Linked DNA regions of Homo sapiens: region 2 is linked to region 1. Evidence: promoter capture Hi-C in 16 types of primary human blood cells and fetal thymus (Javierre and others, 2016). All regions are on one chromosome and are shown on one strand. Each heading gives the region's core, a stretch centred on a gene start or on the middle of the fragment in contact. The rest is flanking DNA. Distances are from core to core; before and after follow the strand shown. Region 1 holds the start of NELFB (negative elongation factor complex member B). Region 2 holds the start of LCN10 (lipocalin 10).

The links. Contacts are between HindIII fragments. The CHiCAGO score rates a contact against its expected background, and 5 or more counts as called.
Region 2: the fragment with the promoter of LCN10 here is called in contact with the fragment with the promoter of NELFB in region 1 in 9 of 17 cell types (naive CD8 T cells, activated CD4 T cells, total B cells and 6 more); the score reaches 9.7 in naive CD8 T cells.

Annotation. Positions count from the first base shown.
Region 1 is chr9:137,253,215-137,260,216 of GRCh38, forward strand. NELFB (negative elongation factor complex member B) reads left to right here and starts at 2,113. Exons shown (of 13, transcript NM_015456.5): 1 at 2,113-2,397; 2 at 2,693-2,856; 3 at 3,115-3,214; 4 at 3,610-3,840. The coding sequence starts at 2,152. It overlaps STPG3 (sperm-tail PG-rich repeat containing 3), which reads left to right. Exons shown (of 6, transcript NM_001004353.4): 6 at 1-269. The coding sequence ends at 31. It overlaps STPG3-AS1 (STPG3 antisense RNA 1), which reads right to left and starts at 283. Exons shown (of 4, transcript NR_038389.1): 1 at 1-283. It also overlaps a transcript of CIMIP2A not described here. RefSeq lists silencers at 1,481-1,660, 1,851-2,220, 2,231-2,410, 2,451-2,510 and enhancers at 1,521-2,468, 2,469-3,416. The HindIII fragment of the contact is 15,726 bases long and covers 1-7,002 here.
Region 2 is chr9:136,741,538-136,745,127 of GRCh38, forward strand. LCN10 (lipocalin 10) reads right to left here and starts at 1,403. Exons shown (of 6, transcript NM_001001712.3): 1 at 1,250-1,403; 2 at 344-483. The coding sequence starts at 1,366. LCN6 (lipocalin 6) reads right to left here. Exons shown (of 7, transcript NM_198946.3): 5 at 3,103-3,204; 6 at 2,802-2,827; 7 at 2,480-2,605. The coding sequence ends at 3,125. RefSeq lists a silencer at 808-907. The HindIII fragment of the contact is 7,084 bases long and covers 1-3,590 here.

The DNA of each region.
Region 1 (7,002 bases), core at 863-3,362:
CCACGACACAGGCCCCTTCTGCACGCTCTAGAGCCAGCTGGGCACAACCTGCTTGGCCCGGCCACCGAGTGGAACCATGGCCTCCCCCGGGGCTTTCCCAGGCCTCCCCTGGGACTTGGGGCCCCAGCCTGGCCTTCTGACCCTCTGGGCACCCCGATGCACCCTTCTGGCTGGCCAACCCTTCTATGGGCTGTGGACAAGGCTGGCCCAGCCTGGATCCCCCATCTGCCCATCTCCCCGCTACACTGAGATGCTGTTGGTTTTCCCGAGCTCTGTGGTGTGCAGTTGTCTGTCCTTCACCCGGGGGCGGTCCTAGAGATATGGCTGCCGCTGGGTCATTTCCGGCTTTCCCTGTTGAGGGGTCTCCATTCAGCTGCCCCTGAAAGGTGCTCTCTTCTCTAGGGTGGCAGCCTGTGACTGACCCTGAGCTCTAGCCTGGAGCGAGATGGGAGGTGGGCTCTGTGGGACACCCCCACCCAGCCGTGTCACTCAGGGGCCTGGTCTAGCTGCTGTCCACCTGAGGGTCAGCTGCTTGCCGAGCCAGGGAACTGGGAAGGAGGCGTCAAATGCCCTGAGCCGCCACCTCCAGGTGGGGTCGGCCTGGCCAGACCTCAGGAAGGGCCCAGGGATCTGCTCACCAGGGCCCAGCCCCACTTCCCCTAGGCCTTGAGCTGAAGACCTGGCTGGGCTTAGTCACCTGTGCCCTGAACACTCTGGCCCAGGGCCCTGCAGACTCCACTCCCGGGGCCTTCACCTGCTGGGACCCTGCACTGCCCCTGCCTGCAACTTCGCCTGGCTGGGGCCTCCCTTGTCATCACTGGCCTGCCCTCCTACCCAGGGTCGGGCCCCAAGGCTGCCACCTTGCAGGAGCCTTACCTGCGGTGCCGTCACCCGCACCTCCCCAGGTCCTCCCCAGACCCAGGACCCAGACCAGGCCCAGAGCTCAACCCCTTCAAAAAGGCTCTGGGCAGCTGCTTCTGTGGCCTCAGCACCACCCCCTTTCTCAGAGAGGAATCCCAGGCTCAGGATTGTGTGTGTGCTGTGACCCTTGTCCTCCTCTGCCACCGAACCAGCTGGGGGTTGGATCAAGGCACTGGAACCCTCGCCCTAGGGCTGACCAACTTGGCCAGCGGCAAGAGAGCTGTGGTAGCCATGGCCTTGGGAGCTCGGCCCGGCTTGTGGGAACAGGAGCTCTGCTCACGGCTGCACCACCAGGCACCCCTGGTGAGACCCAAAGCTAGGAGTGGGAGCGGCAGGAAAGATGGAGCGATCTCCTCCAGCTGGGCTGAGGAGGGAGGGCTTCCTGGAGGAGGTGGTGGAGGAAGAAGCCTTCAAGGAAGAGCAAGAGTTTGCTGGGCAGCGGGAAAGAAATTTCTAGAGAAAATTTCAGCAGCGGAGACCGAAAAGAGAGAGGGTGTGTGTAGGGGGCTTGGCGCGGCACAGCCTGCGGGAGGGCGGCGGGCTGGAGAGGCGGGGAGGCCCGGGGAGCCCACCCGCCTGGGATAAGAAGGGACACTGTGGAACCTGGACTCTCCTTCACGGCTCCGCGGAGCTCGGTGGGCGCCACAGCCTCCCGGTGCCTGGGAGGGCGGCCGTCGCTCGCGCTCCCGCTGCGGGCCCGGTCTCCGCCAGGCCCCGGCCCCCTGAAGGCGCTCAGATCTCAGTTTTGGCGACAGCGCCGGGGTGGGCTTCGTGCCCGTTTCACGCGGAGGAACCCACGCTCAGGAGGGAGTCTGCGCCTGTGTCCGGCCCCTGCGGGGCAGAGGGGCGGGGAGCTCAACCCCCGGCAAAACGTCCCCGCTGCGCGTGGCTGCCGCGAGATCTGCAAGAGCGTTTTCCACGCTTATGTACACGAAATTCACTCGGCTGCGACGACGTCCGTTCCCGGAGCAGACGGACCCTGAGTCCGCCCCCCACGCCCTCACCCGCCCTCTTCTGCCAGAAAGCCCGGGCGCGGGCGGGACCGGGTGGGCGCATGCGCGCTGGGCTGGCTGGGCGGGGTCTCTCGCGCCGGGTGAGGGCGCTGCTCCCAGGAACCTGCGCGCGGCCCCGGCGGCGTTTCCCGGGGGCCGGTTGGCGGGCGGACCTGGGCGGTGCGGGGCGGAAGTGGGCGGCTGCGGGACGCGCGCGGAGTCGCGCGGCGGGCGGGACCTGGCCGAGCTGGAGGGCGCCGGGGAGCGGGGCTCGGGCGGTCCCCGAGGCCCGGCGGAGCGGGCTTCTGGGGTGTCTGCGGCGGCGCCGGGGGAACGGGCTGGGGATGGGGCGCCTAGCCGGGCGGTGGCCGGGGCCTCGGCCATGTTCGCGGGGCTGCAGGACCTGGGCGTGGCCAACGGCGAGGACCTGAAGGAGACCCTGACCAACTGCACGGAGCCGCTCAAGGCCATCGAGCAGTTCCAGGTGGGGCGGCCCCCGGGGCGGGGGGAGCCCAGTTGGAGGGCCGGGCCGCCTGCTCGGGAGTCGGGCCTGGCGGAGGCGCCGGAAGTTTTCCGGCTTTCTGCTGGTGGCTGAGTCCTGTTCTGGGGGTGGAGTCCGGAGCCAGCACCCCTTTGCTGGACGGCTGGGTGGCTTTCGGTGGCTGCGGTTACCGCCAGCACGGCTGGGAACACCTGGGTGCGTGCCTCCCTGTGCTCTCAGGACCTCGGGGTGCCCGGGCGCACTGGGCTGCGTTTGAGGTTTCTCTTGGCTTCCTCAGACAGAGAATGGTGTGCTGCTGCCATCTCTTCAGTCAGCCCTCCCCTTCTTGGACCTGCACGGGACGCCGCGGCTGGAGTTCCACCAGTCGGTATTCGATGAGCTGCGGGACAAGCTGCTGGAGCGAGTGTCAGCCATCGCTTCGGAGGGGAAGGCTGAGGAAAGGTGGGTCAGCGGGAGGGGTGGGCAGGTGAGATGTGCAGCCGGCCTCTCAGCCTTGGATCGACTCAGGGGCATTTATTGTCCTTTTGGCTCCACATCCTTGCTCCCAGAGGTGGCCTGGGCCTGTGTCTGAGTGACCCCTTGACCCATGTGTCCTGGGCGTGGAGGCTTGTCCTGGTAGCTGTTATCTGTGTAGGGACAGGCAGGTAGCTGCTGCGATTTGGCGCATCGCTGCACCATCAATCCTGTGAGTTGTTCCAGGTACAAGAAGCTGGAAGACCTTCTGGAGAAGAGCTTTTCTCTGGTGAAGATGCCGTCCCTGCAGCCCGTGGTGATGTGCGTCATGAAGCACCTGCCCAAGGTAGGGCCCTAACCCTAACCCTGATGGCGTGGACCGTCCGCCCACTCTCATGCCCTTGGTTAGTGGAAGTTCCGGTGGCCGCCTAGCTCCGGGAGCTTCCTGTGCTGCCTGCCCAAGTGCTGTCCATGGTGAGCTCTGTGCTGACTTCTCCCACATGAGCCGCGTGGAGACCGAACCTTAGCACTGGAGTTAGGGTGTGGGGCCCCTCCTGGGAAAGAGCTGTTGGTATTTAGCATGTCTGTCTGACATGCTGGGGCCGGGGAACCAGTCATAGGTGCCCTGTGGGGTGGAGCTTAGCTCGAGGTGGTCTCTGCGGGGCTGAGGCCTCTTGGCTTGTCTTGAAGGAGACCCAGGGACACAGGTGCCACTCACAGGCAGCCTGTGGTGTCATGTAGGTTCCGGAGAAAAAACTGAAGCTGGTTATGGCTGACAAGGAGCTGTATCGAGCCTGCGCCGTGGAGGTGAAGCGGCAGATCTGGCAAGACAACCAGGCCCTCTTCGGGGACGAGGTTTCCCCACTCCTGAAGCAGTACATCCTGGAGAAGGAGAGCGCTCTCTTCAGTACAGAGCTCTCTGTCCTGCACAACTTTTTCAGTCCTTCCCCCAAGACCAGGCGCCAGGGCGAGGTGAGGGGACAGGCCGTGTGCGGGGTGGGGCACCTCTTGGGGATGCCACGGCTAGCGCCTTCAGCTGCCTGGGGATCAGCACTCTGCTGCCCTGTGAATGATCGGGTGGTTCTGCTTCTTGGCTGGGTGGTGGGGGAGGGCTGGCTTGTACACATGCTGGAAAGAAAGTTGGTTGTTTTTCTGTTTGCATTTTACTTTTCGTTAAAGTGATATATGGACAACATTTAAAATCTGCGGAAAGCCCGCTCATGTGAAGTTAATCCCCCCTCCCCTACTTTTTTTCTTTTTCTTTGAGACGGAGTCTCGCTCTGTTGCCCAGGCTGGAGTGCAGTGGTGTGATCTCGGCTCACTGCAAGCTCCCGGGTTCACTCCATTCTCCTGCCTCAGTCTCCCGAGTAGCTGGGACTACAGGCGCCCGCCACCATGCCTGGCTAATTTTTTTTCTTTTTCTTTTTTTTTTTTTTTGAGACGGAGTTTCGCTATTGTTGCCCAGGCTGGAGTGCAATGGCGTGATCTCGGCTCACTGCGACCTCCGCCTCCCAGGTTCAAGCAATTCTCCTGCCTCAGCCTCCCGAGTAGCTGGGATTACAGGCATGCATCACCACGCCCGGCTAATTTTGTATTTTTAGTAGAGATGGGATTTCTCCATGTTGGTCAGGCTGGTCTTGAACTCCTGACCTCAGGTGATCCGCCCCCCTCGGCCTCCCAAAGTGCTGGGATTACAGGGGTGAGCCACCGTGCCTGGCTTTTTTTCTTTTTTTTTCTTTTTTAAGAGACAGGGTCTCACTCTGTTGCACAGGCTGGAGTGCAGTGGCGTGATCACGACTCGCTGCAGCTTTGACTTCCTGAGCTAAAGTGATCTTCCTGAGTAGCTGGGACCACAGGCACGTGCCACCACACTGGGGCTACTTAAAAATATATATATATTTTTGTAGAGGTGGGGTCTGGCTATGTTGCTCAGGCTGGTCTTGAACTCCTGGGCTGAAGCGATCCTCCCACATCAGCCTTCTAAAGTGCTGGGATTACAGACATGAGGCACCATGCCTAGCCGAGATTTGTTGGGGTTTTTTTTTTTTTTTTTTTTTTTGAGACAGGGTCTCACTCTGTCACCCAGGTTGGAGTACAGTGGTGTGATCGTGGCTCACTGCAGCCTCGACCTCCTGGACTCAAGCAATCCTCCTACCTCAGTCTCCTAAGCAGCTGGGACCACCGGTGTGTGACACCATGCCTGGCTAATTTGTATACTTTTTGCAGAGTTGGTGTTTCGCTGTGTTGCCCAGGCTGGTCTCGAACTCCTGGGCTCAAGTAATCTGTCTGCACACCTCAGCCTCCTGAAGTGCTGGGATTATAGGTGTGAGCGACCACAACTGGTTGTGAGATTTTTTAATTAGCCAATTTTTTTTTTTTTTTTTGAGACAGAGTCTTGCTCTGTCACCCAGACTGGAGTGCAGGGCCTCAATCTCGGCTCACTGTAACCTCTGCCTCCTGAGTTCAAGCAATTCTCCTGCCTCGGCCTCTCGAGTAGCTGAGACTACAGGCGCGCCCCACCATGCCTGGCTAATTTTTTTATTTTTTTGTTTAGTACAGACAGGGTTTCACCATGTTGACCAGGCTGGTCTTGAACTCCTGACCTCAGGTAATCCGCCCACCTTGGCCTCCCAAAGTGCTGGGATTACAAGTGTGAGCCACTGCGCCCGGCCCTAACCAACTTTAAACTAGCACTGTTCAGTGGAAAAAGCGAACTATAAGTTAAGATTTTTCAGCATCCACATTAAGAAAAAAAAATGAGATCAACTTCATTAATGTTTTCTTTGGTCCAGTATATCCAAAATATTATCTTTCAGCATGTAATTCATGTGAAAGATTGGGCTGGGTACGGTGGCTCACGCCTGTACTCCTAGTACTTTGGGAGGCGGAGGTGGGAGGATCGCTTGAGCTTAGTAGTTAAAGACCAAAGGGAGACCTTGTCTCTACAAGAAAAAAAAATTAAGCTAAGCATGGTGGTGCGTACCTGTTGTCTCAACTACTCAGGAGGCTGAAGCAGGAGGATTGCTTAGGCCTCGGATATTGAGGCTGCAGTGAGGTATGATTGAGCCACTGCACTCCAACCTGGGCGACAGAGTGAGAGATCCTGTCTCAAAAGGAAAAAAAAAATATTGAGCTATAATGCTTTTTGCGGGAGGATCACTAAGATTTGAAACCTGGTGAGTCTTTCATGCTTAGAGCCCATCTGAACTACTGCACTTCAAACGCTGAGCAGTTAGTGTGGCTCTGGGTTCCCTTCGGGCCGTGGTTCCTGACCATGTGCGTGGGCAGCAGCAGGCTTGTTGGGGGTGGCAGTGCCACCTCTGTCCTCCCTTCCCTGTTTGTTTATTCCCAGTTAGGTCCTCCATGGGCCTTTTTCTTGTTCCATTGCTGTCAGACAGAGCCCTTGGACCCCTCTGCTAACTGTGGGGTGCCCTGCATTTCCCAGGCCTTTCTCCTATCGCCTGTCTCTTCTGGTGACTTGGTGCTGCCTATACTGATTTCTGTCTGTAAGGGAAATCAGTCGGCTTGGTCGGCTTAGTCCTAGGTTGATTCTCTTTTATTTTTATTTTATTTTATTTTATATATTTTTATCTTGTTTTATTTTACTACTTTTTAAAATTTATTTTTTATTTTTTTATTATTTATTTATTTATTTTTTTGGAGACAGAGTCTTGCTCTGTCACCCAGGCTGGAGTGCAGTGGCACGATCTTGGCTCACTGCAAGCTCCGCCTCCCGGGTTCACTCCATTCTCCTGCCTCAGCCTCCCAAGTAGCTGGGACTACAGGCGCCTGCCACCATGCCCGGCTAATTTTTTGTATTTTTTTTTTTAGTAGAGACGGGGTTTCACAGTGTTAGCCAGGATGGTCTCAATCTCCTGACCTTGTGATCCACCTGCCTCAGCCTCCCAAAGTGTTGGGATTATGGGCGTGAGCCACCGTGCCTGGCCTATTTTTATTTTTATTTATTTTATTTTATTTTATTTTTGAGACAGAATCTTGCTCTGTTGCCCAGGCTGGAGTGCAGTGGTGCAATCTCGGCTCACTGCAAGCTCCGCCTCCCGGGTTCACTCCGTTCTCCTGCCTCAGCCTCCCGAGTGGCTGGGACTACAGGCGCCCACCACCACGCCCAGCTAT
Region 2 (3,590 bases), core at 153-2,652, 510 kb before region 1:
TCTGTGGTTTGAGGATTTTCCAATTCGGACTGGGGCCTGTCCCACGGCACGAGAGAAACTCCCAACACCCACCCGTGTGGGGCCCAGGAGCTGCAAGCGGCTTCCTCCCAACACCTACCCATGTGGGGTCCCAAGGTCTGCAGGCAGCTTCCTCCCAACACCCACCCATGTGGGGTCCCAGGGGCTGCAGGTGGCTTCCTCTGAGTTTAGGGGGAGGAAGTGGGGGGACGGTTCTTGTGGAACTTCCAGACAGACAGGCTCCTCCCAGACTCCTTTCCAGCCCCGAGGCAGCTCCCTCCTCCTGGAAGGGGAGACCCTTGCCTGGGGGGCGCTGCCCACTCACCGTCTGAAGGCGAGGAGCACGCGGAGCTGGCCCACTTTGTTCACCTTTACCACGGACGCCCCCAGCTTCCTCTTGTCCCTGGCCGGCAAGAATCCCTGGGCATCAGTGGCAGTGGCCAGAATGTACCAGAACCCTGAAAACTGCGCAGCGGATGTGTGGGCGGGGACAGGAGCTGCCACCGGGGGCTGTCCCCACCCCCGAGGTTCCCAGCTAGAGAACCCAGGAGACAAATGACCCTTCTGTGAGCCGGAGTCCCAGCTCCGCCCAGGTGCCGCCTCGGTCCCGGCCACTCAAGCCCTGGCCACTGGAGCAGGGCTGCAGAGAAGCAGGTGCCCGGCTGGTCAGGGACCCCAGGCAGCAAAGGGCTGGGCTGTGGGCGCCAGCAGGTGGGAGGCCCCCTACCTCAGAGGCCCCGGCTCCTTCCCACATGGCCTCCTGGGGGCTGGGTACTGCTCGGCCACTTCCCTTCCTGCCGGCCCCCGGCCCCCAACTCTGCCTGCTGCCAACCCTAGCGCCCTGGGCACCGCCGTGCCAATGAGTGCTGCTCCCACGGCTCACTCAGCAGGTGCCCGGGCCCTCCCGCTACAGAATATGCCCCGCTTGCTCCACACCCACTCTGCACTCTGGGCGTCTCCCGACCTCCTCGGCCACAGCTCTCTGGGCCCCTCCACCCTGGCCCTCCCTGACCCCCCTGGGCCCCCGAACCCCCTCGAGGCTCCCTGCCTTTGCCCTGCAACTTGCGGGGCCCCTGTGCTGGAGGCTGCAGTGGGAGAGGCCAGGTGGGCAGCGCCCGTGCCTGGAACTGCTGGTAGCCCTGCTCCTGGGCGGCTGCCGGGAGACTGTGCAGGAGCCTGCTCCAGCTCCAGAGCCGGCGCCCGGCTCAGGGACCAGTGGCACATGGCTCACCTTGTTCCAGTTGAGGGCGTGGGACTCCCTGGGGTACCACTCCTGCACCTGGGACCCTGCAGCCAGCACTAGCACCAGCACCAGCACCAGCGCCAGCACCAGCAGCCCCTGCCTCATCTTCACCCTCCTCCCTCAGCCGCCAAGGCCAGTGTTTAAACCTCTCTGGAGCCGCCAGCCTGTGTCGGGAGAGGAGGGAGGGGAGGGAGCGGAGGGAGGCAACAGGTGTGGCCTTGGGCTCTGCTACCCTCTCCCCGCCCAGGGACCACCCCCAGACACTCCAGGGAAGCCGGCACTGCCCCACCTGGTGGTCACTGCTGGCCTGGGCTGCCCTGGCAGACAGAGGCCCCTCTGAGGCCCCAGGACCCTCCTGCCCTCAGTGCCCGGCCTGGGGTCACTGTGTGTGCCCCTGAGACTCATTAAGCCCTGGCCCTCATCCTAGACCTCCCAGGTGACAGGCAAAGGGCTGGTCGTGGCCCTTCTGGGGCAGATGTGGACATGGTGAGCTCTGCGCGGCAGCCACACACACAGCCCCCACCACCTTCTTGAGGGCCTGGCACCAAGCACCTGAGCAGGTGCCGAAGGGCGGGCCGGGGCTGTGTGCCCGTGCCCATGAATGTGTGTGTGTGCATGTGTGGGTGTGTGCTCACATGTGCATGCGTGTGCATGCCCAGCCTTGCAGGTCAAGGCATCTGTGTGCACCTCGCCTCACTCCAGCATGAGCCTCACACAGTCCCCAGCCCCCCATCCAGCCCCGAGACCCCCATGGCCTGTGCTTCTCCCAGGACGGCAGGCAGCGCAGCCCCCCACACCCATCAGAACACAGGAGGACCTGCAGGCTCAGGTGTCTGGGGTCCCTGCCCCTGCCCAGGCAAGAGACACAACCCCAGCCCAGAGAAGCCTGAGCCTGGGGAGTCAGGGGCTGCTCTGAGCCCCACCAGCCACCTCTCTCTTGTCCTGGGCAGTCCTTGGAGCCTCTGGCACCCCAGCTGCGGTCCTGGTGGAGCTCACTGCTGGCTTCCTCCCAGGCTGTGTCCTCTGACCAGCCCCCGCCTCTGAGCCCGGGCCTGAGTTTGGGTGTCTGAAGACCCAGAGGGGCTCTGGCAAGGGACTGGGTTGGGCACGCGTCTTCTTTGCAGCTGGCTCTATGGTTCTGTGGCTTGGCCCTTGGTGACGACCCCCGCCATCCTCCCCGCAATTCCCCGGCTGGCCCCCAGTCAAAAGCATCCTTGGTTTGCTGTGGAATCGCTTTATTCTGAGCTGGTGCTGGGCCCCGGGAGCCGCTGAGCGAGGTGGGTGGACACTGGCCGAGGTCACAGGACCCTGTGGGCGCCATCCCTACTGGGGACGCAGCACTCACTGAAAACCAAGAGGAGTGTGAGGGGGCCCAGCCCACCATGGAGGCTCCTCCACACCCTCAGCTGCCTTAGAGACAGTGGAGCCATGAACCCCGTGGGCTTGGGCAGAGGGTCCTCCCACCCACTGTGCGTAGGGTGGCCTCCCCCACCCCCTTCCCCCAAGAGAGCCCAGGGTGAGGCTCAGGATGGCGGCTTACCAGAAGGATCTTGTGAGCACAGGTGACTAGAAGGGGAGGCAAGACTGGCTGTGAAAAAGGACTGAGCCCCCCAGCACCCCAGGGCCCCACCCACAAGACTCGCCTGCCGTGGGGACAAGACCCCCAGGCCTGACTTTGGGCAGGGGCAGGTGAAGACCCCCTCAGCCTGCCTGACTCCTTCAGGGCGACTGAGTCAGGCAGAAGCCAGAATCAACCCCAGGGTCTCTGTCACCCCATCACGCCCTGTGGGCTCCAGAACTTGCCCCAAGCCTCCCCCGAGGCTGCTCCGGTGGACACTCACGGTCCTTCTGCAGCTGGGCCTGCTACTGTGACAGGAAGCCCAGGCTCCTGCTCCACTTGGTGAAGAGCCCCATGGCCTCCTGGCTGGCTGTCTCCGTCAGACCTGGGGGCACCAGGGCAGTGCAGGGGGAAGCAACCTCTGAGAGCTGGGGAGGGGCCGGGGAGGGGCTGGGAAGGGTCAGGAAGGAGGCCACCTGCCCTGGGATGCTGGCCCCGGTCCTTCCAAAGCCACCTCCAGTGCAGCGAGCCTCAAGGTGGGGGAACTTGGCCTGCATGTGGTCCTGTGCGGCCCACCCACCACACAGCTCCCCACATGGCCCCCGAGCGGCCCACTCACCACACAGCTCCCCATGTGGCCCCAAGCGGCCCACTCACCACACAGCTCCCCACATGGCCCCCGAGCGGCCCACTCACCACACAGCTCCCCACGCGGCCCCCAAGCGGCCCACGCACCACACAGCTCCCAACGTGGGCCCCGAGTGGCCCACG